Linked DNA regions of Homo sapiens: all the other regions are linked to region 1. The links are contacts of gene promoters, found by promoter capture Hi-C in blood cells and fetal thymus (Javierre and others, 2016). All regions are on one chromosome and are shown on one strand. The core of a region is centred on a gene start or on the middle of the fragment in contact, and the rest is flanking DNA. Distances in the headings are between cores, read along the strand shown. Region 1 holds the start of UBXN4 (UBX domain protein 4). Region 2 overlaps ACMSD (aminocarboxymuconate semialdehyde decarboxylase). Region 3 overlaps CCNT2 (cyclin T2). Region 4 overlaps CCNT2 (cyclin T2). Region 5 overlaps MAP3K19 (mitogen-activated protein kinase kinase kinase 19). Region 6 overlaps MAP3K19 (mitogen-activated protein kinase kinase kinase 19). Region 7 overlaps MAP3K19 (mitogen-activated protein kinase kinase kinase 19).

Region 1 (3,413 bases), core at 427-2,926:
GTCACTTTATGACTGCTGACCTAAGTGCCTCATCTATAAAATGGGGATAATTAAACCTGTTCTATTTACTGCAAGGATCAACTGAGATATTAGGAGAAAAACAATTTAAAATGTCAAAAACCTACTAATGTACACAATAAGCATAGTGTCATTTACTTTTCCTTTCATTTTCAATCCATTTTTTTCCTTACGGGATTACAGAATTAATTTATGTAAAGTATAATATAACCCCCAGACAGCATCACAGAATCTAAACTATTCAAGCTCTTCTAATAAACAGCATTGAGCTAAAAACTTGGCGTAACAAAACAATTATAAATTCCAAATTTAATGCTAAATGACATTCACATTTCAGTAATTCGTTCTTCACTGCAGTGCATAAAGTTATAGAGCTATTAAAAGACGAGTTAATTATGAATAAACCGTTATTAAACACAAATAGTTGAAGAAATACACCTCAAATTAACAACAGCCACAAACATTGATTTGGTCCATGTAATGAGTATGAGCAGAACCGTAGAGGCAGGGAGTTCACTGTAAATCTACAAGATTTCAGTAATAAAACAGGAGAATATGGAGCAAAATAGCCTAGAGCAACAGAGAATATATGAGTTAATAAACGTTCTCAAAGTCGTGTAGATTTTAGCCTAAGAAGACAACAAAGGGAAGAAACCAAGGACTGAACGTCTATTTTCTTTGAAACTAATGGATTTTTTTTAAACTTACATTATTTCACACTAGATCCCCTACCAAGACTGCCATAAAGAAAAATTAAACCTCTATTCAGCTCAAAAGTTTACGTTTCAGGAACGTACTAACACCAGTAACCGTGAACATCAGGTGGTTTCTCTTTGTTGCTTATCGATGACACAGCTTTCTTCCCGACAGTCCACAACTAATTACAACCCAACTGCTTGCCTAATGGCCCGTTCCTACCTCCATCTAAACAGCAGTAACGAAACGGGCGTTCAAGCAGCACAAAGAGGGTCCTTGGTGACAGAGAGGGACGTCAGGGAGAGGGTCGCGGGGGTCTGGCTGCGCAGGGGAGAGGCTCGGGGCGACGAGCGGGGCTGGGCGGCTGGGGCCTGCTGGCCGCGTCCGTCGCCCCGAGCGGGGAGATTTCGGCGGGCCTCGGGGCGCTTTGGAGACCAGGGCCAGACGGTGCCTCCGGCCCGGCTGCCGGGAGACGCAGCGGTGGGGCCAGGCCCACTGTATCTCAAACGAACCGGGGAGGCGCTGAACAGCCACGGGCCGGCAGCCCGGGCCTCGCAGACACTGAGGAAAGGCTGGGGGCGCCCGGGGCCTGAAGGAGCAGGGCGCTGAGGGTCTGCATGGCCCCTCTGGGGGATCTGGCGGCGGAGTCGCAGCCGTCCCTGGGGCGCGGGGTAGTAGTGGCAATTGTGCGAGCCGACAGGAGCCCGCGTCTCGGGGAGGGCGGGCCGGCGGCTGAGGTATACAAGAGGATGAAGGTAGGCCGGAGGGGTGTCCCGGCCGCCTCTCGAACCCCTGCCTCCTTCACCTGCCACGAACACCACGAAGACCGCGCCGCTCCTTTTGGCCGTCGCGATGGCGGCCGGAATGGCGCCCTGGAACCACAGCATCGCTCCCTTCGGGCCCAGGCGCTCGCTCGGTGTGTAGTCTCCGCAGTCCCGAAGCCGGCTCCGCCCTCCGTCTTCGTCCGGCTCTGCGGCCCCCGCAACCTTGGCTGGTTCGGCCCCCACCTCCGGCTCCGCACAAGCGCGCACGCCCGTCAGCGGCACCCGGAGACGCGCGCTAGCGCGCGCGAGAACACCTCACGTCACAGTCGCAACCCGTCGGTGTCCGTGCCCCAGGACCTTCTCTCGTTGGCGAGTCGATGGTGCGGGCGCGCGCCCGCTAGGCCTCCGGTCGCGCAGTCCAGGAAGTGGAGGAAAGCGGTAAGAGGGATGACTAACCGCTAAGACACGTCGGCGGCGCCTGCAGTGAGGCATGATGGGAATTGTAGTCCACTTAGGCTTATTCGCCTCCATATTGTGGAGCATGTAACTGTGGGTTCTGAGGCACAGCTAAAGGGGGCAGTAGTGAGGGCCACTACACATTCTATAAAGGGGAGAGGGAGAAATAAGTGTCACTCCAACTGGCATATGCTATTCTCGGCCTCGTTGAGACTCTCAGTGTGGAGGAAATAGTCCTCGCATGGAACTAAATGGGCTTTGTCGGGATTAACTCCGAGGCTTTGATTTCTTCTGAACGTAGCCCAACCTTGCAGAAAAACGGGATAAAAACCGCAAGTCACCTTCTTTAATAACCTGTAGTCCATGTGCCTAAGCGGAGGAATTGGTAGAACGCAGGCCTTCAGCAATTTCCTAGACACTGGATAGAGATCATTTCAAAACTTCAAAACGCGTTAGGCTATTGCCACAGCTACTTTTTAAAGTAACACAAAGCAGAGAATAGATTATTTCTTTTCCAGCTACTTTCCATGGTAATACAAAAGAGACTAGATAGTGATTTATTTTCCAATTTTCTGGGAGAATGTCCTATAATCAAGATGTGGCGCTTTGTGATTGGCTGCCATTAAATGAAAACTGATCCATATTTAATACTTTCATGAAATCACATGGTCTGTAATAACTATTAGCTAAAGGCTTGCATGGTTTATTTAAAGTTGCATATACTATTATGTTAAATTCTACATCAATTAAATTTATCCTCCAGCAGTACATCTATCTGACAATCTTTGCAAGATAAAGGAAGTGATACATCTGAATATACCACCTTTCCTACAGATATTTTCCCTAAAAATAGCTAATTATTTGCACTCCGATTTTTGTACTTTTTTTCCCAATCAGGCCTCTCGTATATAGTGTTATTATAAACTGAGACATAATGCTGATTAGGGACAGTTGCTTCTATAGGACAACAATCCTACAGAAAAATTAGAATTGACCTTTAACATCAACTTTAATGGACTTCTGGAAATTTGATCAATCTAGAAATTATTCCAATAGAGCTATGTCTTTAATTATCTCTAATTTTAGAATTAAATAAGAATCCTTCATAGTTTTATATTCATTTGTCAAGTGTTTATCACTCATCTTTTATGAGCTAGGCATTGTGCCTGGCACTGATAAGGAGGTGAGGCAGTCAGAAGAAGGCCCTGTCTTTGTGACTGTACAGTCTAGTCAGGAAGACAGACATTGAATAAGTAATTATGAGTGATGATAAATGTCACAGAAGGGTAATTCAGAGTGCTACAGAAGTGTATGAGGATGGGACCGAACATGGGCTAGTGGAGTCAGAAAGGGCCTTCATGAGGAAATGACGTGTCGGGGAACTCTAGGTAGGTGAAGGAGAAGGCTATTCCACATGAGGCTCTGAAGCAAGCAAACACAGTGCACTTGCAGAACTAAAAAATGCCCAGTGTGGCTATA
Region 2 (3,413 bases), core at 571-3,070, 840 kb after region 1:
AACAGTTCAAGACTTTTAGTGCCAAAAGGGACACTTTGTGTATAAAATAGTCTAAGGTTTCCCAGTTAATAACTTGTAACTAGTATACTGAAGAATGAATTTTTCTTGGCATCTGTTAATGTACTTTAAGCCTATTGAGAAGATTTGATGAACAATATCTTTAATAGTTAAGGCAGGGAGAGTTCAAGGTAACTTTTGGATTCTAGTTTAGAAGAAAGCCAAGAATTATGCAAAAGGATTACAACTAAAAGTTTTGTAAGATTTATTAAGAGTTTATATATTCTCATATTGTTATTTTTGGCCATCCCTGACTCCTGGGAGTGATGGGCAGTGAAGGTCTTAGGAAGAACTTATTTTTTTGGAGGATGGGGGTGTGGAAGGAGTGGCAAAGGAGAGGGAAACTGAAGACACTGCATCTCATTTTAAACTCATCTTGGTTTAGGAGTCTAAGGGGTAGACTAGGTAATGGTAGCATTATAGCACATATTAGTATCATTTACCTGCCTTAAAAGTCAAACGCCGGGAAAAAAAATAAAGTCTAGTTACTTAAAGGATCTGATTCCTTGGATCCTTTTAATCAAGACTTTAGTTTCATCATCTAAATAACTAGAGTTATTACAACTTTTGAGATTGGTAGATTTGTAACAGAAGTAATATAGAAAAAATTTAGACATTTTTCCTATGATCTATCTAACATGCAGGCATATTTTATTGTCATATCCTTCTATACAACTTTCTTTCTTGGGTTTATGAATTTAGTTGTACTAGGCTGACTTTCAGCTTTGTCATTTTTTTTGTCCTTTAATAGTTTAGCTATTTATGGAGATAGAGTAATAGTTTTAGGGAATTCAGTGTAATGGTTCCTCTGTTCTTTGTTTTTATATATCAAAGTGCTCTGAAACCAAACCCAATTAGAGCAGGAAAAGTCAGTAAGAAAGCCGTGAAGTAAAAGACATTATACCTTTGTTTCTTCATCAAATTCTTCCATGGACTCTATTAGTTTCCCAGGTTCCAGCTCACCTAGTGGAAAGGGGTAATCGGTTCCCAAAATGACTTTATCCTAAAAAACAAAATATATATTTCTCTGTTGTTTTGTAAAACATGAAAGAGCCTCCTGTAAACAATTGTTTACTTATTACAAACATTCCTGTCATAAAAATAACACATTTTTTCCTGATTAATAGAAACATAAAACTTGTCTAAAATTTTAAAAAGATTTAATGGTTCAAATTTTATTCTGACTTTTTTTTTCCAGCAGGTGTCACTATTAGGTCTCTTTGTTGCAAATCAACCCCATTCTCTCTCTTTTTAAATAACTGAAATATAGAATACTGAAATATAAGAAATTGATATTTATTTACTAAAATATATATATTCAGATGAAATTAAGGGATTCTGTCTTTCTTAGAATGATACATTGCAATTGATTCCACAGTTTTTCAAAACATACTATTAACAGAGTAGGAAAGGAAACATAAAAAACAAATAACTCGATAAAAAGTAAAAAAAAAAAAACAAAAACAAAAACAAAAAATAGAAAAAGAAAATCCCCTATCTCTGGATCAGTTCCTATAAACAATTCCTATAAACTGGATCATAAGTTTTTGAACAGTATAGCTTTGAATTTCCATTTGACACTTTATACAATAAAATACGTAGGCTTGTCAATCTACAAATATATTAAGCACTGTGTCAGACAATGTGCTAGAATTTAGATGTACCCTTGTCAACAAAACAGACATGGTTCCTTTTCTGAAGGAACTCATAATCAAGTGAGAAAGATATTATGTCAATAATGGCAATTTATCAAAGTAAAATAAAATAAAAATTCAAACCAGAAATTTTACTTCTCAAAATGTATTCCACTCATACACTTGTGCTGGAAAGATATACAAAGAAATAAATTGCAACATTATTTGGAACAGCAAAAGACTGGCCAATTAAATTACAGAATATCTCCAAATAGAAAAGAATAAAGAATACTTACATATGCTGAAATGGAATAATCTCCAAGTTACAGTGTAAAGAAGAATGATCTTGAAGTTATAAAGAGAAATAAAGAGTCTAGAACAATGTGTCTGCTATGCTTTGATTTCTGTTTTCAATAAGGTACCTATAGACCCACAAATATATGTTTGTATATATACAGTCTATTTCAGGAATGGTATCTAAGAAACAAATAACATTAATTTCCTCCATGGAGTAGGACTAGGGCTTGGGGGTCAGAATATCCCCTTTTCTTTTTTTTTTGAGATATAATTCACATACCATAAAATTCACCCCCTTTAAAGTGTATAATTCAATGGGTTTTAGTATATTCATAAGTTTGTGTAATCATTTCCACTAATTATAGAATGTTTAAAAAAATTTTTTTCATCTTATATAACCACAGATTTTTGTCACCTCCAAAATAAACCCTGTACCCATTAGCAGTGACTCCCCATTCTTTTCTCCCTCCAGCCCTTGGAAAACACTAGTTTACCCTCTGTGTCTCCAGAATTGCCTGGTTGGTACATTTCACATAAATGGAATCACATAATATGTAGCCTTCTTTCATTTAGTTTAATGTTTTCAAGGTTCACCCATGTTATTGCTTGAATCAATACGTACCTAAGAGTGGAAGTGCTGGCGCATATGGTGAGTCCATGTTTAACATTTTGAGAAACTATTTTCTACCATGGCTGCAGCTTTCTACATTCCCACCAGCATGTATGAGGGTTCCAGTTTCTCCAGATCCTCGCCAACATTGGTTATTCATCTTTTTGATTATGGCCATCTCAGTAGGTATGAGGTGGTATCTCACTGTAGTTTTTATTTGTATTTCTCTAATAAGTAATTATGTTGAACATCTTTTCATGTGCTTATTGGCTATTTGTATCTCTTCCTTGGAGAAATGTCTACTAAGATCCCTTGTGTACATTCATGTCCATTTTGTTATCTTTTTATCATTGAGCTATAAGAGATCTTTGTGTGTTCTGAATACTAGAGCCTTATAGATACATGATTTGCAAATATTTTCTCCATTCGGTGAGTTGTCTTTTTTACTTCCTTGGTATTGTCTTTTGAAGCACAAAAGTTTTAAATTTTGATGAAGTCTTCTTCATCTATTATTTTCTTTGGATGCTTGTACTTTTGGTGCCATAGCAAAGAAACTATTGCCTAACCCAAAGTCACAAAGATTTACACCTATGGTTTCTTCTAAGAGTTTGTGGTTTTAGTTCTTCAATTTAAGTCTTTGATCCATTTTGAGTTAATTTGCATGGTGTAAAGAAGGAGTCCAACTTTATTTATTTTTTTTACATGTGGATATCTACTCTTATCTCACTATCATATGTTGAAAAGACTATTCTTTATCACACTGAATTGTATTGGCACCCTTGTTGAAAGTCAGTTGATCTTTATGTCTGTCTTTA
Region 3 (3,413 bases), core at 675-3,174, 810 kb after region 1:
TTTAAATCCTTAATTTTGCTGCACTAGAAACACCAGCACTAAGGAATTGCAGAAAATGTTATTAACCCAGTGTGGCATTTTAGTTTTCTTACTCAAATAATTATGTGAGTGAAAGACTGACATGAAAGCAAATTTATATTAAAAAATTAAAAAAAATCTTCAAGCTGGATGTTAAGATACCTAATTACATTTAAAAGAAAGCTGGGTTAATAACGGCCCCAAAATATCAGTATTCAATATTGCTGAAAAGCAGTACTGATTAAGAGAATAAGGCTTGACTTCCATAGAGTAACTACATTATACTTAAACAATATACTGAAAATGGTTAACATAACCGGCATTTAAAAAATTATTTAGTGGGGAGTACCTGAGCATTATGAATGTTTCTAAAAAAGAAAAAATATCAGCCGAGCGTGGTGGCTCATGCCTGTAATCCCAGCACTTCGGGATGCCAAGACGGGCGGATCACCTGAGGTCAGGAGTTTGAGACCAACAGGTCAGGAGTTCAAGATTAACACATGGTGAAACCCCGTCTCTACTAAAATACAAAAAAATTAGCCAGGTATGGTGGCACACACCTGTAATCCTAACCACTTGGGAGGCTGAGGCAGGGGAATCGCTTGAACCTGGGAGGCGGAGGTTGCAGCGAGCACCACTGCACTCCAGGCTGGGTGACAGAGTGAGACTGTCTGAAAAAAAACAAAAAAGAAAAAATGAAAAAAACCAACTTATAAAGTATACTTAGTATTTCATAGTTAAGGCTCTATCTACTCTCTCTTATATAGACACAGCTCCTAACAGCCTACAATAAATACTAAAAAATACCACTCTAAGTCCCAGCTACCTGGGAGGCTGAGGTGGGAGGACTGCTTGAGTCCATGGGTTTGAGGCTAGCCTGAGCAACAGAGTGAGATCCCTTCTCTTAAAAAACCAAAAGGACAAAAAATGACTTGTATTGTGAAACAAGAACATTAACATTGCACAGGAATTCAAATATACTACATAAATGTTACAAAAGGCCACTTTCCTTCGAACAGATTATCACGAAGATGGCAGTACTCCCCAAATTTATCTACAGATTCAATGTCATCCCTATAAAAATCCCAGCTTCTTTTGTAGAAACTGATGAGCTTGATCCTAAAATTCACATGGAAATACAAGGGACTAAGAATAGCCAAAACAATCTTGAAAAAGCACAAAGTTGGAAGACTCATATTTCCTAAATTCAAAAGTTATTACAAAGCTACAGTAATCAAGACTATGTGGTCTGCATAAGGGGATGGAATAGAATCCAGAGTCCAGAAATAAATGCTTACATTTATGATCCATTGATTTTCACTAACAATCCCAAGAAAATTCAGTGGGAGAAAGAACTCTTTTCAGCAAATGGTGCTGGGACAACTGTATATTCAAATACCAAAAAAAAAAAAAAAAAAAAAAAAAGATCCGGGCATGGTGGCTTATGCCTGTAATCCTAGCACTTTGGGAGGCCAAGGCAGGCAAATCACGAGGTCAGGAGATCGAGACCATCCTGGCTAACACGGTGAAACCCCGTCTCTACTAAAAATACAAAAAATCAGCCGGGCGTGGCGGCAGGCACCTGTAGTCCCAGCTACTTGGGAGGCTGAGACAGGAGAATGGCGTGAACTTGGGAGGTGGAGCACGCAGTGAGCCCAGATGGCGCCACTGCACTCCAGCCTGAGGGACAGAGTGAGATGTCTCAAAAAAAAAAAAAATTCAAATCCTTATTTACATCATACATAAAAACTAACTCTAAAGGAATCACAGACCTAAATGTAAGAGCTAAATCTATAAAACTCTTGGAAGAAAAGACAAATAAATCTTTATGACTCTAGTTTAGGTAAAGGTTTCTTAGATATGCTATCAAGAACACAAGTTACAGAAGAAAAATATTAATAAACTGGATGCTTGTGCTGCAAATACCACCAAGAACATAAAAATGACAATGCATAGAATAGGGGATATCATTTCACACTGTTAGGATGGCTACGATAAAAAAAAGACGAGAAAAGTGATGATATTGCAACCCTCACACATTTTGAGAACACAAAATGGTATGGCTACTTTGGAAAACAGTTCGGCAGTTCCTCAAAATGTTTCTTAAAAGCTATCCAAAAAGATTATTGGAGTCTAAAGTTACCATACCAATCCAGCAATTCCACTCTCATGTAACTCTCACCCGTAAGAAATGAAAACATATGTTCACATAAAAACTTGTACATGAATGTTCATAGCAGCATTATTCATAATAGCCAGTGGAATGGCTGTTAAGTGTAATCAACCCAAATGTCCATCAGCTGATAAATGGATAAATAAAAAGAGGTACAGCCACATGACGAATAGAATATTAATTACTCTGCAGTAAAAAGGAATGAAGTACTAACACATTCTACACCATGAACGGACCTTGAAAACATGCTTCGTGAAAGACCATATATACATGATTCCATTTATATGAAATGTCCAGAATGGGCAAATCTATGGAGACAGAAAATAATTTAGGGGTTGCCCAGGGTTGGGAAGGGGAGTGGGACTGGTGAACTGCTGCTTACAGCAACCAGGTTTCTTTTTGGGGTGATAAAAATATTCTAAACTGAGATTGTGGTGATAGTTGTACAACTTCGTGTGAGCCACTGAATTATGCATTCTAAATAGGTGGATTTTACGGTATATGAATTGTATCTCTCTCTCTCTCTTTTTTTTTTAAGGAGCTAACGTTAAAGACATCTATTTAGGCCAGGCGGGGTGGCTCATGCCTGTAATCCCAGCACTTTGGGAGGCCAAGCCAGGCGGATCACTTGAAGTCAGGAGTTCGAGACCAGGCTGGCCAACATGGTAAAACCCTGCCATTACTAAAAATACAAAAATTAGCCAGGCATGGTGGTGCATGCCTGTAATCCCAGCTACTCAGGGAGGGTGAGGCAGGAGAATCACTTGAACCCAGGAGGTGGAGGCTGGAGCGAGCTGAGATTGCACCACTGCACTCCAGCCTGGGTAACACAGCAAGATTCCGTCTCAAAAAAAAAAAAAAGGCATCTATTTATTAGTTCTCTCTCTCTCTCTCTCTCTCTGTTTTTGAGACAGGGTCTTGCTCTGTCACCTAGGCTGGAGTGCAGTGGCGTGAACGTGGCTCACTGCAGCCTCAACCTCCTGGGCTCAAGCGATTTTCCTGCCTCAGCCTCCCAAGTAGCTGGGACTACAGGCGCACACCAAGATGCCGGGCTAATTTTTTTTTAAATTAATTTTTGTAGAGACAGGGTCTCGCCAAGTTGCCCAGGCTGGTCTTGAAGTCCTGGTTTCAATCCTCCCACCTCTGTCTCCCAAAGTGCTGGGATTACAGGTGTGAGCCACCATGCCTGGCCAGATCTCCATAGATGTAGTGTGCATGCACT
Region 4 (3,413 bases), core at 414-2,913, 790 kb after region 1:
AGAGACTACAGGTTCATTTTGTAATAGCAAGCTTTTTTGTAAACTATTCTAAGCCAATGTTAAGATCGACACTTCAGACAAGCTATAATTTAACCATTAATCTTTCAAGATGTAATTTCCTTGACAATGTCATGACTAGTCCCTGCTAAAGTCTCATGAGCTTTTTCATCCAGTTTGGATGAAAAAAACCCTAATGCCCAGACCTTTACTTCCTCATTTGAAAAAAAAAGAAAAAAAAAAAGACTATTTTTCTACTTTTGGGTCCAACATTAACAAAACTGTTTTGACTCAATTTCTGTTAACAACTTGGTTGTAAAACATTAAATACACTTCAAGTTCTGGTCCAAAATCTCGTACACAAAATGTAAGCTTTGTTTTTCTTAAGTATCCTACTGTATTAAATTTTATAGCAGAACAACAAAAGAATCTGTTAAATAATCCATTAACATAATTAATTAGCTATATGCACAAAAATCACAGTATGTGCCTAAAATAGAGGCCCTTCTCTCTCAAAGCTACTGTCTAAGCCAATGTTCTTTTCTGGAACACAATCATTAAGTGAATTATTTCAGTAAGTAATAAGAATAGTAGTATCACTTCACTCTACAATTCAGATAAATCTTCATGTCTTTTTTTTTCCCCCCAGACAGGGTTTCCTCTGTTGCCCAGGCTGGAGAGCAGTAGCATTATCACAGCTCACTACAACCTTGACGTCTCAGGCTCAGGTGATCCTCCCACCTTAGCCTCCACAGTAGTTGGGTCTATAGGAGTGCGCCACCATGCCCGGTTTGTGTGTATTTTTAGTAGAAACGTGGTTTTGCCATGTTGCTCAGGCTGGGCTCAAACTCCTGTGCTCAAGATATGTGAGTGACTGCACCCGGCCACACCTTCATGTCTTTAATTTTGAATTGCCTTTTTGTGACTGACACAGAAAAAAAAGCTGCTGCAAAACATGGTGAAAGTCTTAACATATCAGTTCTCCAAGATTCCTATTCAATTGCTCTCCAAATTAACAAACTTTACTTTTCAGAATGGAAATGAGGTAGCTCCTCCTGTGTCAAAAAACCCCACATAAACCACAACCTAACCTCTGACCTAAAGACAGGATAAAAGGCAGATTACTTTTCTGTGATCTTTTTACTTCAGCACCAGGTATATAAACTATTTTTATTACGATTATGCCTACTGGCTGGGTGTGGTGGTTCACGCCTGTAATCCTAACACTTTGAGGCCAAGGTGGGTGGATCATGAGGTCAGGAGTTCAAGACCAGCCTGGCCAACATGGTGAAAACCCTATCTCTACTAAAAATACAAAAATTAGCCAGGCGTGGTGGCAGGCACCTGTAATCCCAGCTACTCAGGAGGCTGAGGCAGAGAACTGCTTGAACCCGGGAGGCGGAGGGTGCAGCGAGCCGAGATTGCGCCACCGCACTCTATAGCCTGGGCGACTGAGACTCTGTCCCCCACCCCCCCCCCGAAAAAAAAATTTTGCCTACCTAATCTTAATCTAGTGACTATTAAACTAAAACAATGACCTAGATAACCTGATTTTTCAAGCTATAGAACAGATAAGCCCTCACTGAGTTTTAGATGTCATTTCAACTCATTGAAGACTTCCTTTCCTCTGGATAAACTCTGAAAAAGCCTCTAACAATTTAAGAAAAACATTATAATCATGCAGCAATAATACAGCATGAGATATATATTCTGGGATAATTTTTTCCAGGTGGAAAACAAAATAGAAAAGGATGAAACAAAGAAGCATATTTCACAAATAAGAACAGGCAAACTATGGATAATTGGCCAAATATGGCTGGCCACCTATTTTTGTCAACAAAAGTTTTACTGGAACACAGTCACACCCAATCAGTTACAAATTGCCTATGGCTGCTTTCTGGCTGCAATGGTATAGTTGTATAGTTGCAACAGAGACCTTATAGTTCACAAACTCTAAAATAGTGTTACTCTTTGCAGACCCCTATCTTAAAGAAACATCAGGTGGGGCACAGAGGCTCAAACCTGTAATCCCAGCCCTTTGGGAGGCTAAGACAGGTGGACTGCAAAACCCCATCTCTACTAAAAATACAAAACTTAGCTGGGCGTGGTGGCATGCGCCTATGGTCCCAGCTCCTCAGGAGGCTGAGGCAGGAGAATCGCTTGAACCTGGGAGGCAGAGGTTGCAGTGAGCCCAGGTTGCACCACTGCGCTCCAGCTTGGGGGGCAGAGTGAGTATCTGTCTCAAAAAACAAAACAACACAAAACAAGGCCAGGCACAGTGGCTCAAGCCTGTAATCCCAGCACTTTGGGAGGACAAGGTGGGCAGATCATCTGAGGTGAGGAGTTTGAGACCAGCCTGGCCAACATGGTGAAACCCCATCTCTACTAAAAACACAAAAACTAGTTGGGTGTGGTGGCTCGTGCCTGCAGTCCCAGCGACTTGGGAGGCTGAGGCAGGAGAATTGCTTGAACTCGGGAGGTGGAGGTTGCGGTGAGCCAAGATTGCACCACTGCACTCCAGCCTTGGCGACAGAGTGAGACTGACTCAAAAAAAAAAAAAAGTGTTATCTATTTTCTTGCTGAAATCTACAGTACGTGGTTAAAATGCCCTAATCCCAAGAATCTCCCATTTCTGGCCGGCTTCTTTTACTTCTCAACCAGAGGAATTTCTCATCAAAACATCCCCAAAATTCCACGTTCCTAATTAACAGAACACACACCCACAATTTCTCCTTGTGTATTCATATTTAACAATGTAAGGCAACAATGGTAATACAGAGCAAGAAACACAATCCCCTGAAAATCCCTTTCGTTTACTGCTTCACAGTTAACACTCAACTTTCAGTATACACATTTAAAACTCAACAGAATTAGTATACTTTAAATCACTATTCTTATCTTGTCAGCTTATGGAATTCTAAACCTTACTTATTTATTTTTTAAGTCCTGAAAAAGCTTTAGATATTTGGTGGTAGTTAATATATACCCAGGCTGGAGTAGAGCAGTGCCTTCAAGGCTTACCGCAGCCCTGACTTCCCGTGCTCAAGTGATCATCCCGCCTCAGCCTCCCAAGTAGCTGAGACTATAGGCACGCACCACCACACCCAGTCAATTTTTAACTTTTTTTTTGTAGAGACAGGGTCTATGTTGCCCAGCCTGGTCTTGAACTCCTGGGCTCAAGTGATCCTCCTGCCTCAGCCTCCTACAGTGCTGGGATTACAGGTATGAGCACAGCTTCCAGACTCTATTTTTTTTTCTTTAGGCTGATGAATTGTTGTTTTCATTCTGTTCATCTGATAGTGTACTGACACTTTCTATTGTCAATTCAGACAACTGCCAACTTAGATAATTCCAAACTTAAAAATTTATTTTCTCTACTTACCATCTAATAATTCTAGAGTAACTGTAGGATCCAC
Region 5 (3,413 bases), core at 629-3,128, 750 kb after region 1:
TGTTTTGTTTTGTTTTGTTTTGTTTTGTTTTGTTTTTTGAGACAGAGTCTCACTCTGTCACCCAGGCTAGAGTGCAGTGGTGCAATCTCGGCTCACTGCAAGCTCCGCCTCCCGGGTTCACGCCATTCTCCTGCCTCAGCCTCCCGAGTAGCTGGGACTACACGCACCCGCCACCACGCCCGGCTAATTTTTTGTATTTTTAGTAGAGACGGGGTTTCTCCATGTTAGCCAGGATGGTCTCGATCTCCTGACCTCGTGATCCGCCCGCCTCGGCCTCCCAAAGTGCTGGGTGTTCTGTTTTGTTTTGTTTAGAGACAGGGTCTCGCTATGTTGGCCACGTTGGTCTTGAACTCCTGGCCTCAAGCAATACTCCCCCTTAGCCTCCCAAAGTGCTAGGGTTACAGATGTTAGCCACCGCACATGGCTGCAGTAGCCTACTGTTGACCAGAGCCTTATAGATAACATAAACAGTTGATTAACACACACATTTTGTGTTATATGTATTATATGCTGTATTCTTACAATAAAGCCAAGAAAATAAAATGTTATTAAGAAAATCATAAGGGGCCAGGTGTGGTGGCTCACGCCTTAATCCCAGCACTTTGGGAGGCCAAGGCGGGTGGTTCACGAGGATAAGAGATCGAAACCATCCTGGCCAACATGGTGAAACTCCGTCTCTACTAAAATACAAAACATTAGCTGGGCATGGTGGCGGGTGCCTGTAGTCCCAGCTACTCGGGAGGCTGAGGCAGGAGAATTGCTTGAACCTGGAAGGTGGAGGTTGCAGTGACCCGACATCATGCCACCGGACTCCAGCCTGGCAACAGAGCAAGACTCCGTCTCAAAAATAAAACAAACAAACAAACAAAAAAAAAAAACAAAAAAAGAAAATCATAAGGAAGAGAAAATATATTTACTCTTCATTAAGTGGAAGTGGATCACCATAAAGGTCTTCATCCTCACTGTCTTCATGTTGAATAGGCTGAGGACGAGGAGGAACAGGAGGGCTTGGTCGTGCTGTCACAGAGGTAGCAGAGGAGGAAGAAAATCCACATATAGGTGGACTTGCGTAGTTTGAAGCCCTGTTGTTCAAGGGTCAACTGTATTTCTTGGAAAAACAACAACTCACATATAGTTCCTAGAGTAGCAAATCGTTCCTGGGAAAATTATGCCTTGCCATGTGCAGTGCTTTTCTGGAGTGTTTCTGTTCTTTACATAATGAGCTGAGTAGCTCCCTTAGACATTTTTTTTTTTTTGAGACAGAGTCTCACTCTGTTGCCCAGGCTGGAGTGCAGTTGGCACAATCTCGGCTCACTGCAACCACCACCTCCTGGGTTCAAGCGTTTCTCCTGCCTCAGCCTCCTGAGTAGCTGGGATTACAGGCACCTGCCACCACACCCAGCTAATTTTTGTATTTTTAGTAGAGATGGGGTTTCACCATGTTGGTCAGGTGGGTCTTGAACTCCTGACCTTGAGTGATCCGATTGCCTCGGCCTCCCAAAGTGCTGGGATTACAGGTGTGAGCCACCACACCTGGCCAGACATATTTTAATTTGTCTTTTTTCAACCTATTTAGAAATTAGGCAATTCTTTTCTTTCCCCCAGTGGTGGAAAGATTTTCCTAGCTGTCTAATTTATAAGTTTTTGGAAAGATATTTGCAATTCTTAGTTTCTCAACTACCTGACCCTTCTTTTCCTATGAGCCTTTGAGAAATACTTATGCATAGGTACTGCTTAGCATTGTAAAAGGAGTTTATTGACCTAAAAAATTGTAATGGCTGTTACTAGGCAGATGGTTAAGCACTGGATGAATCTGCCTTTATGTCCTAAGTCATTTTTGAGAAATGAGGAAAATCATCTAGACAGTAAAACTGGGGTCTACACTACATCTCATCTACTTTTAATGCCTAAGTTTCTAGAGTCAGGTTCCATTTCCTTCCTTCTTACACACAGGTGGCAATAGAATGAAAATTAAACATACATTTCTCAATTACTACCCATGACCCATGCCTATAAATATTGTGATATAAATAGGTATTGAATCTGTATACACAGGAAAAGACCACAATGAAAAGAAGCATAAAGTTAAGGAGTTTATAGCTTACTGCCCGCAAAGTTTAATATTATACATTGGGTTACACTGACCTCTACAGGATGATAATAAAAACTAGCTTAGTTTGAAACTAGAGGAGGGCAAAGGAGAAAGGAAAAACTAGCTTAGTTTGAAACTAGAGGGCAAAGGAGAAAGGAAAGCCATCCATTTGCCTGTCATCCACAAAAATGAAATTTTGTACATTTCATTCACAAACTAATTCAGCAAAACGATGGTGAGTAGTTGTGTTTCGGATATGAATTCTGAGTTAGTCAATAACTGGTAATTTTTGAGGTATTTTAACAGCAATTTTAAACTGTTTTCAGTGGGATTTCAAAAATCTTAAATCAATTCTATGGAAAGTAAAAAGAAAAAAGAAGAGAAATAAAATGCTTCTTATCTTAAATTTTTACCATTTACATTATAGGGCCTTCATTTAAAAATATATAACCATGAATATTTACATCTATAATAATCCTGGTTTTAAAACGTGTTGTTTTAAATTGGTTCTAAAAAAAATATTGGGAATGAGGTTTTAATTTTAAAAATTGTGATCTTTCCAGGCATAGTGGCTCATGCCTGTAATTCCAGCATTTTGGGAGGCAGAAGTGGGAGGATTGCTTGAGGCCAGGAGTTTGAGACCAGCCTGGGCAACATAGAGAGACCTTGTCTCTACTAAAATTTAAACATTAGCCGAGCATAGTGGCACATGCCTGCAGTCCCAGCTACTTGGGAGGCTGAGGTGGGAGGATCGCTTGAGCCCAGGAAGTCAAGGCTGCAATGAGCTGTGATTATGCCACTGCACCCCAGCCTGGGTGACAGAGCGAGATCTTGTCTCAAGAAGAAAAAAAAGAATTGTGATTTCCAGGATAGCTTTGAACTTTAAAAGCCTTCCTTAAGAGGATATTATAATCTCTTTAGACTACTTTAAACGAGTTAGCGTGATATTTATATATGTTTCTGCATTCACAGCTTTTTCTGTCTTCCTTTTAGTTCCTTCTGCCACCACTGTCACTCTTGCCCACGCGATCTGGTGTCCTTACTATCCCCCAAAATCACAAGTTTCCAAAAGAAAAAGAAAGAAACATTCCAAGTCTCACATCTTTTGTGCCTAAGCTCTCAGTGTCTGTTCGTCAATCTGATGAGCTCAGCCCATCAAACGAGCCTCCGGGAGCCCTAGTTAAGTCGTTGATGGATCCGACTCTCAGGTCTTCTGATGGCTTCATTTGGTCAAGAAACATGTGCTCTTTTCCTAAGACTAACCATCACAGGCAATGCCTGGAGAAGGAGGAAAACTGGAAATCCAAGGAAATAGAAGAAT
Region 6 (3,413 bases), core at 614-3,113, 730 kb after region 1:
ACACAAAAACTATATATAATACTAAAAAAGAAAAATTCAAATGACCCATAAGCATCTAAAACTATCTCCAACTTTTCTATTAATCAAAGTATGAACATTCAAACAATAATAAGAAGACCAATTCCATCTATTACATTAAATATAATAAAATGAAAAGTCGGCCAGACGTGGTGGCAGGTGCCTGTAATCCCAGCTCTTTGGGAGGCAGAGGGAGGTGGATTACTTGAGATCAGGAGATCGAGACCAGCCTGGTAAACATATTGAAACGCCATCTCTACTAAAAATACAAAAAAAAAAAAAAAAAATTAGCCAGGCATGGTGGTGGGCACCTGTAACCCCAGCTACTTGGGAGGCTAAGGCAGGAGAATCGCTTGAACCTGGAAGGTGGAGTTTGCAGTGAGCCGAGATTGCACCACAGCACTCCAGCCTGGGCAACAGAGCAAGACTCTGTCTCAAAAAATAAAAAATAAAATGAAAAGGGGCAGGGCATGGTGGTACATACTTATAGTTCCAGCTACTCAGGAGGCTGAGGTGGGAGGATCACCTGAGCCCAGGAGTTCAAGGCTGCAGTGAGCCATGATAGTGCCACTGCATTCCAGCCTGTGTGCCAGAGTGAGACACTGCCTCAAAATAATAACAATAATCATATAAACACCTGTGAAAAGAAGGGAAAACAATAATAATTAATTAATTAATTAAATGAAAAGGAATGATGATAAGGGAGAAGATATGATATAGCACATTCATGCACTGCTGGTGGATTATAAATAGGGATAAACTTTACTTTTAAGGCAATGTGTGTACAAAAAAACAACTTTTTCATAGTATTTGGGTCAATAATTCCATATCTAGGGATCTACTCTAAAGAAATAATGCAAAATTGGGGTATTAGTTGCAAATATTTAATAATACTATGTGTAAGAGTGAAGAATTTTAAATTACCTACTAAGCATCATGGGAGTTACATTGTAAGACTAACGGGGCTTATTAAAGAAGTACTATTGGCTGAGCGTGGTGGCTCACGCCTGTAATCCCAGCACTTTGGGAGGCCGAGGCAGGCAGATCACGAGGTCAGAAGTTTGAGACCAGCCTGGCCAGCATGGTGAAACCTCGTCTCTACTAAAAATACAAAAATAAGGCGGGCATGGTGGCGGGTGCCTGTAGTCTCAGCTACTCGAGAGGTTGAGACAGGAGAATCTCTTGAACCCGGGAGGTGGAGGTTGCAGTGAGCTGAGGTCGCACCACTGCACTCCAGCCTGGGCGACAGAGCAAGACTCCATCTCAAAAAAAAAAAAGAAGTACTGTTATGACCCTCTGATATTTGTTGAAGGAAAGAAATTTTAAATTCCATTAAAATTAAAATGACACTTACTTAGTAAATTGCTTATGAATTTACACTTAAGTGAAAAAGCCAGATACAAAAATTATGTGATGCAACTATATTTTTAAATACTTAAGAGAAACACAAAGAAAATATGATTCCTGTGTTAACAGTGTTTGCTCTTTGGTTGTCAGGTTATAGGTGATTTTTTAAATTTTGCTTTAAAAAATACTTTTTTGTATTTTTGTATGTTCTAGGAAGAATAAATCCCCCTTTGTGATTTGATAGGAAGGAGGAGGAATTTGCCAGATAATGGTAGAATTTTTGAAATACAGAGAAGGTTAAGCAGTGAAATTGACAACAGCCTAGGAGCTGAGTGAACCCATCCGCCATTGACAACCAGGATAGTCTGAGGTAGGGCACCCAACTTTTGCCAGGAGATAGAAAACGCTTTAGAAAGTATTAATAAGGGTAGTGGGGAGTAGGGAGGAAGGGGGATGGTTAATGGGTACAAAAAAAAATAGCTAGAAAGAATGAATAATCAACCCAATGAGAGAACAAAAAGAAAAAAAAAGGAAAAGAAAGAGTAAGAACTAGTACTGATAGCACAACAGGGTGACTATAGTAATAATTTAATTGTACGTTTAAAAATAACTAAAAGTATAATTGAATCATTTGTAACACAAAGGATAAATGCTTGATGTGATGAATACTCCATTTACCCTGATGTCATTATTATGCATTGCATGCCTATATCAAAATATCTCCTGTATCCCATAAATATATATACCTATGTACCCATAAAAATTAAAAAACAATGTTTAAGTATAAACTGCTGAATAAAAGTAAGGTATGACAACTAAGTTATTATGATTGAATACCTAAAATATTTTTAATGACTGTATAAATGGAGGGTTTTACTTCTGGTTTTTTTTTTTGAGACAGGGTCTCACTCAGTTGCCCAGGCTGGAGTGCAGTGGTGCAATCATGGCTCACTGCAGCCTCAACCTCCTATGGCTCAAATGATCCTCGCACCTCAGCCTCCTGAGTAGTTGGGACTACAGGCACGTGCCACCATGCCTGGCTAATTTTTGTATTTTTTGTAGAGATGGGGCTTCACCATGTTGTCCAGGCTGGCCTCAAGCAATCCACCCATCTCGGCCTCCCAAAGTGCTAGGATTATAGGTGTGACTCACCATGCCTGGCCAGGTTTTACTTTTATTTCCTTTTTCTTTTCTTCTTCTTTTCTTTTTTCTCTCTCTCTCTTTCTCTCTCTCTTTTCTTTTCTTTCTTTTGACAGGGTCTCACTCTGTCACCCAGGCTGGAGTGCAGTGGCGTGACCCTAGCTCACCATAGCCTTGACCTCCCGGGTTCAAGCCATCCTCCTGCCTCAGCCTGCCAAGTAGCTGGGACAACAGGGGTGTGCCATCACGTCCAGCTAATTTTTGTATTTTCAGTAGAGACAGGGTTTTGCCATGTTGCCCAGGCTGGTCTCGAACTCCTGAGCTCAAGTGATCCACCCGCCTCAGCCTCCCAAAGTGCTGGGATTACAGGAGTGAACCACCATGCCTGGCCAACTTTTATTATTTGCTACGACAATTAAAATGAACAAGGAGAGAAAAGCAAGAAATTTCCTAGCTCTCTTGGGAATTAATAAATGAGCTATCAGAGAATTTTTGTGACTCGCCACTTCTCTGACATTTCAGATGACAGGCTTGAGCACTTAGGGCAAAGACTTATTGTCCATCAGTCCCCTTAAATAGGTAGTCCACCTAGATCATAGAAACCAGACAGATAGTTGTAACATTCGGGTTGTGATGGGATGTTTTAACTATTACTTGGATCTATCATGGTTCTAGAAATTTAAAGGCACAAAATCATCAGCTATAACTTCGAATGAAGGAAACTATCAAAAACAATGAATTCTACTAAGAAAACATTTCTTCTTTAAAATGTTTGGAGTACTTTTTGTAAATCAAGTTGGTTTTCAACTATAATGATTATTTTCTAGAGAGTGAAAAGGAAGTTTAAGAGGTTATGCACCATGATTTAGATCAGAACGCCGTCATAGGGAAGACTTTAATCAGCTTTG
Region 7 (3,413 bases), core at 267-2,766, 720 kb after region 1:
CTGTCTCTTTCTTTTCCCTCTCCTTCCTTCCTTCCTTCCTTTCTCTCTCTCTCTCTTTCTTTCTTCCTTTCCTCTTTTTTATACAGGATCTTGCTCTGTTGCCTAGGCTGGAGTGCAGTGATGCAATCATAGCTCACTGTGACCTCAAACTCCTGGGCTCCATGGATCCTCCTGCCTCAGCCTCTCGAGTAGCTGGAACTACAGGCACATACCACTATGCCCGGCTAATTTTTAATTTTTTGTGGAGATGGAGTCCCACTATATTGCCCATGCTGGTCTCAAACCCCTGCCCTCAAGCTGCTCTCCCATCTTGGCCTCCCAAGCTGTGGAGATTACAGGCTGTTTTCTACTATATATGCCAAATGCACATGCATCATCATAAAAGTGACTTCACAATTGCAAAGTGATGTGCAGTTTCTAAAATTTGCTACCTATTATTCTTATGATATCTGGCTCTTTGTTTCATTTCTTGAAATGATTACTGTTCTGGTAGTTACTGGGAATGTCAAATAATTCTTGAGTATCCAGCTCTCTACCCCCAAGATATTACTAATTATTTCAGAAAACACTGTCAATGTCTGAAAAGCAATTTATAATAGTGTTTTCAAGTTATCTTAAAATTACTATATGTCAAATGCTCTTTTAGGAGGGAGGAGATAAACAATGCACTTTTTTTTTAAATAAGAGGGTTAATAAGCAATCTCTTATGTTACAATTGCAGTTTCCTAAAGCTGTTACTTAGTTATCTTGTCATCAAATAAGAACAGATGGCCTGAGCTCTTTCTCAGTACTTCATATGAATTTTGTTTTGAAAAAAAAAGGAGGAGGGAGCTTCAAGAACAAAATTATAGTCAAGAATACAAGATATTGTAAAAGGATCAGTTAGTATAATGGAATGAAAAGGGAATTTTGAAGCTACTTCAGCCTAGTGTTGAGAAATAGTTTGGCCAATTGATAAAAGTGGAGATTCCTGGACGTCATCCCAGAGATGTTCAGTAGGTCTGGATTGGGGTCCAGAATACTGGAAATCAAGGTATGCCACTTGGAGACACCCTAATCTAGGCAGATGAGGAGAGGCCCCAATGAGTTTATCTTTACTTGTTTTTATGCACCCTTAAATAATTATAAAAATTTTTGTCCAAAGTTGGGAATTCTCTGCAAATATGATAAGTGGCTTGCTTAAAGCCATATATCAAGGTAGTGGCAACCCCAATTCTCAGTCCTATGCTATTTCTTTTGAATTACAATCTTTGATGAAGAAAAGTCCATAAGAGAATATTACTGTGGCTCATGACACATTACCCTGTCCCATAGCAACGAAGAGATTCAAATTCAAATGTTTTAGGACAGAGACCATGATCAACTTGCTCCTTGTCCTAGAATAGGATAAGTAAAGCAAGTTTCATCATTGTTTCCCTCACTGTAATCTATTAATGGGATTCTCATCATTTAACTTTGGATTTCTCTGAGCTGATATCTAATGCAAGGGTTCAGTACAACATAGGATAAGAAGAGACTTGTGCTGTCATAATAGAGAGGATAAGAAGAGACTTGTTCTGTTGTAAATGGTCCTAAGATCAGCCAGTTGGGCTTACCAACCACAAAGCCAGGTAAAGAGGAATGAAAAGGCCATGTGGGGGCTGGGCGCGGTGGCTCACGCCTGTAATCCCAGCACTTTGGGAGGCCGAGGCAGGCAGATCACGAGGTCAGGAGTTCGAGACCATCCTGGCTAACACGGTGAAACCCCGTCTCTACTAAAAATACAAAAAAATTAGCCGGGCATGGTGGCGGGCCCCTGTAGTCCCAGCTACTCTGGAGGCTGAGGCAGGAGAATGGCGTGAACCCGGGAGGCAGAGCTTGCAGTGAGCCGAGATCGCGCCACTGCACTCCAGCCTGGGTGACAGAGCAAGACTCCGCCTCAAAAAAAAAAAAAAAAAAAAAAAAAAGAAAAGAAAAGGCCATGTGGAGAGGCACACTTTGGTTTTTATGACAAGATTGCTCCACTCATCCAAGAGACCATGAAATAAAAGTATCAGCTTAATTTTAAAGAGAAGATTCTATGCCATTCCACCATTTTGAATCATAAAAGAGCTAGCTGTTAGCATTAGAAAAAAGAAATATCAAAAAAGTCAGCAGTTAGCTTAATTATTGAAAAGAAAAAAATCAAGTGAGCTATTTGGAATGATAAGACAATCATTTATCAAAATGTTTTAATCCTTATGACTCATTGAAAAAAATTTAAAAATATAAAAAAAAACAACAAAAGATGTTTTTATCTTTACTTGATTTTATGTACCCTTAAAGAATTATAAAAATTTTTGTCCAAAGTTGGGAATTCTCTGCAAACCTCAGAATGTTTTTAGAATGGGGATGGGAATAAAGATACACAGCAAATTCCTTTTATTTAAAATCTTGTAAAATTGTCATCCTCTATTCACACATTTTGAAATCATTATTATTATCCCCAAACTACATAAGATTACTTTTTATTTATTTGATGTAAATGTTTCCCTCTCATATTAGTTTTCTTTTTTCAACAGATTCAACTAAATAAACTTTAATGTTGATTCTGTTCTTCCTAGAGATCCTAAACTTTGTGATTTTAGTGGAAAATCAGCAATACATTATGTGTCACAAATAGAGAGTTCAAAGAAACAGCAGCTTTTGGACATTTTAATGAGTTCTATGCCAAAACCAGGTAAATACTTTCACTCCACATGCATAATTTCCCAACCCAAAAATTCCTGTTAGATCTCTTTCTTTTTCTACATCTGTTTGATGGATCCATTTAAAGAAATCAAGTCCACGGCTATTTATGGAGCAGTGACTCTGTACAAGGCCCACGACTAGGTGCTCTGGGGGATGCAAAGAAGTCTAACGCAAGGTTTAAACTTTTGAAAATATACAGCATGGTCAGGGGCACATCACATAAGTCAGAGAGAGCTTGCTGTAAACTTGAAAGGGGAAGAGGGACTTATAGTGGTTCTTGAAGGCTGGATAACAGTGGGAAGGTTTGATATAGGTAGGAAAAGAGTCCAAACAAAGACAAAGAAACAGCCACAGCAAGAAGTATAATGAAAAGTGTGCCACTGAGCAGCGTGTGACTTTGTGAAAGCTGCCTGACTTTATTGTTTGATTCGCTTTCTGTTTGAAGCTTCGGGGGCAGAGGACAAAGCTATACCTAAGAAGGTTTCATGAAAGAGGTGAGACTTGATCTGACCTTTGAAAAAAGGATGCAATTTGATTTTGTGGAGCAGAGGCCCCTTGCTGGGAGTGAGCATAGCTTATCCCAGGGGCAAACAAGAAACTAGAACTGAAAGTTCATGTCAGGGAAAAGAGAAACAGAAGGTCAGATACATAAAGAAACTGGGCCCATGGAGGGGAGAGCCTTAGATGTCAGGCTGAAGGACATC

The links. Contacts are between HindIII fragments. The CHiCAGO score rates a contact against its expected background, and 5 or more counts as called.
Region 2: a fragment that was not itself captured here is called in contact with the fragment with the promoter of UBXN4 in region 1 in 1 of 17 cell types (non-activated CD4 T cells); the score reaches 5.9 in non-activated CD4 T cells.
Region 3: a contact is called between a fragment that was not itself captured here and the fragment with the promoter of UBXN4 in region 1, in 11 of 17 cell types (non-activated CD4 T cells, naive CD8 T cells, activated CD4 T cells and 8 more). The highest score is 10.2, in non-activated CD4 T cells.
Region 4: a contact is called between a fragment that was not itself captured here and the fragment with the promoter of UBXN4 in region 1, in 11 of 17 cell types (total B cells, total CD4 T cells, erythroblasts and 8 more). The highest score is 12.3, in total B cells.
Region 5: a contact is called between a fragment that was not itself captured here and the fragment with the promoter of UBXN4 in region 1, in 9 of 17 cell types (megakaryocytes, erythroblasts, non-activated CD4 T cells and 6 more). The highest score is 11.3, in megakaryocytes.
Region 6: a contact is called between a fragment that was not itself captured here and the fragment with the promoter of UBXN4 in region 1, in 14 of 17 cell types (total CD4 T cells, M2 macrophages, fetal thymus and 11 more). The highest score is 11.7, in total CD4 T cells.
Region 7: a fragment that was not itself captured here is called in contact with the fragment with the promoter of UBXN4 in region 1 in 5 of 17 cell types (naive B cells, naive CD4 T cells, M2 macrophages and 2 more); the score reaches 7.2 in naive B cells.

Annotation. Positions count from the first base shown.
Region 1 is chr2:135,740,118-135,743,530 of GRCh38, reverse strand. UBXN4 (UBX domain protein 4) reads right to left here and starts at 1,676. Exons shown (of 13, transcript NM_014607.4): 1 at 1,520-1,676. The coding sequence starts at 1,601. LOC107985946 (a long non-coding RNA gene) reads left to right here and starts at 887. Exons shown (of 1, transcript NR_163478.1): 1 at 887-2,702. RefSeq lists a silencer at 1,089-1,138 and enhancers at 435-1,210, 1,539-1,598, 1,929-2,058. The HindIII fragment of the contact is 10,462 bases long and covers 1-3,413 here.
Region 2 is chr2:134,895,988-134,899,400 of GRCh38, reverse strand. It overlaps ACMSD (aminocarboxymuconate semialdehyde decarboxylase), which reads right to left. Exons shown (of 10, transcript NM_138326.3): 9 at 962-1,060. The region is part of intron 1 of CCNT2-AS1 (CCNT2 antisense RNA 1); the gene reads left to right. Among named protein-coding and RNA genes, the nearest start is that of CCNT2-AS1, 21 kb to the left of the region's middle. The HindIII fragment of the contact is 5,396 bases long and covers 1-3,413 here.
Region 3 is chr2:134,929,293-134,932,705 of GRCh38, reverse strand. All of the region lies in intron 2 of CCNT2 (cyclin T2), which reads right to left. Among named protein-coding and RNA genes, the nearest start is that of CCNT2, 12 kb to the right of the region's middle. The HindIII fragment of the contact is 7,188 bases long and covers 1-3,413 here.
Region 4 is chr2:134,947,866-134,951,278 of GRCh38, reverse strand. It overlaps CCNT2 (cyclin T2), which reads right to left. Exons shown (of 9, transcript NM_058241.3): 7 at 3,380-3,413. Among named protein-coding and RNA genes, the nearest start is that of CCNT2, 31 kb to the right of the region's middle. The HindIII fragment of the contact is 2,583 bases long and covers 372-2,954 here.
Region 5 is chr2:134,987,926-134,991,338 of GRCh38, reverse strand. It overlaps MAP3K19 (mitogen-activated protein kinase kinase kinase 19), which reads left to right. Exons shown (of 13, transcript NM_025052.5): 10 at 3,086-3,413. Among named protein-coding and RNA genes, the nearest start is that of MAP3K19, 58 kb to the left of the region's middle. The HindIII fragment of the contact is 3,833 bases long and covers 1-3,413 here.
Region 6 is chr2:135,006,011-135,009,423 of GRCh38, reverse strand. All of the region lies in intron 5 of MAP3K19 (mitogen-activated protein kinase kinase kinase 19), which reads left to right. Among named protein-coding and RNA genes, the nearest start is that of MAP3K19, 40 kb to the left of the region's middle. The HindIII fragment of the contact is 7,045 bases long and covers 1-3,413 here.
Region 7 is chr2:135,023,911-135,027,323 of GRCh38, reverse strand. MAP3K19 (mitogen-activated protein kinase kinase kinase 19) reads left to right here. Exons shown (of 13, transcript NM_025052.5): 4 at 2,583-2,698. The coding sequence starts at 2,677. Among named protein-coding and RNA genes, the nearest start is that of MAP3K19, 22 kb to the left of the region's middle. The HindIII fragment of the contact is 3,280 bases long and covers 1-3,156 here.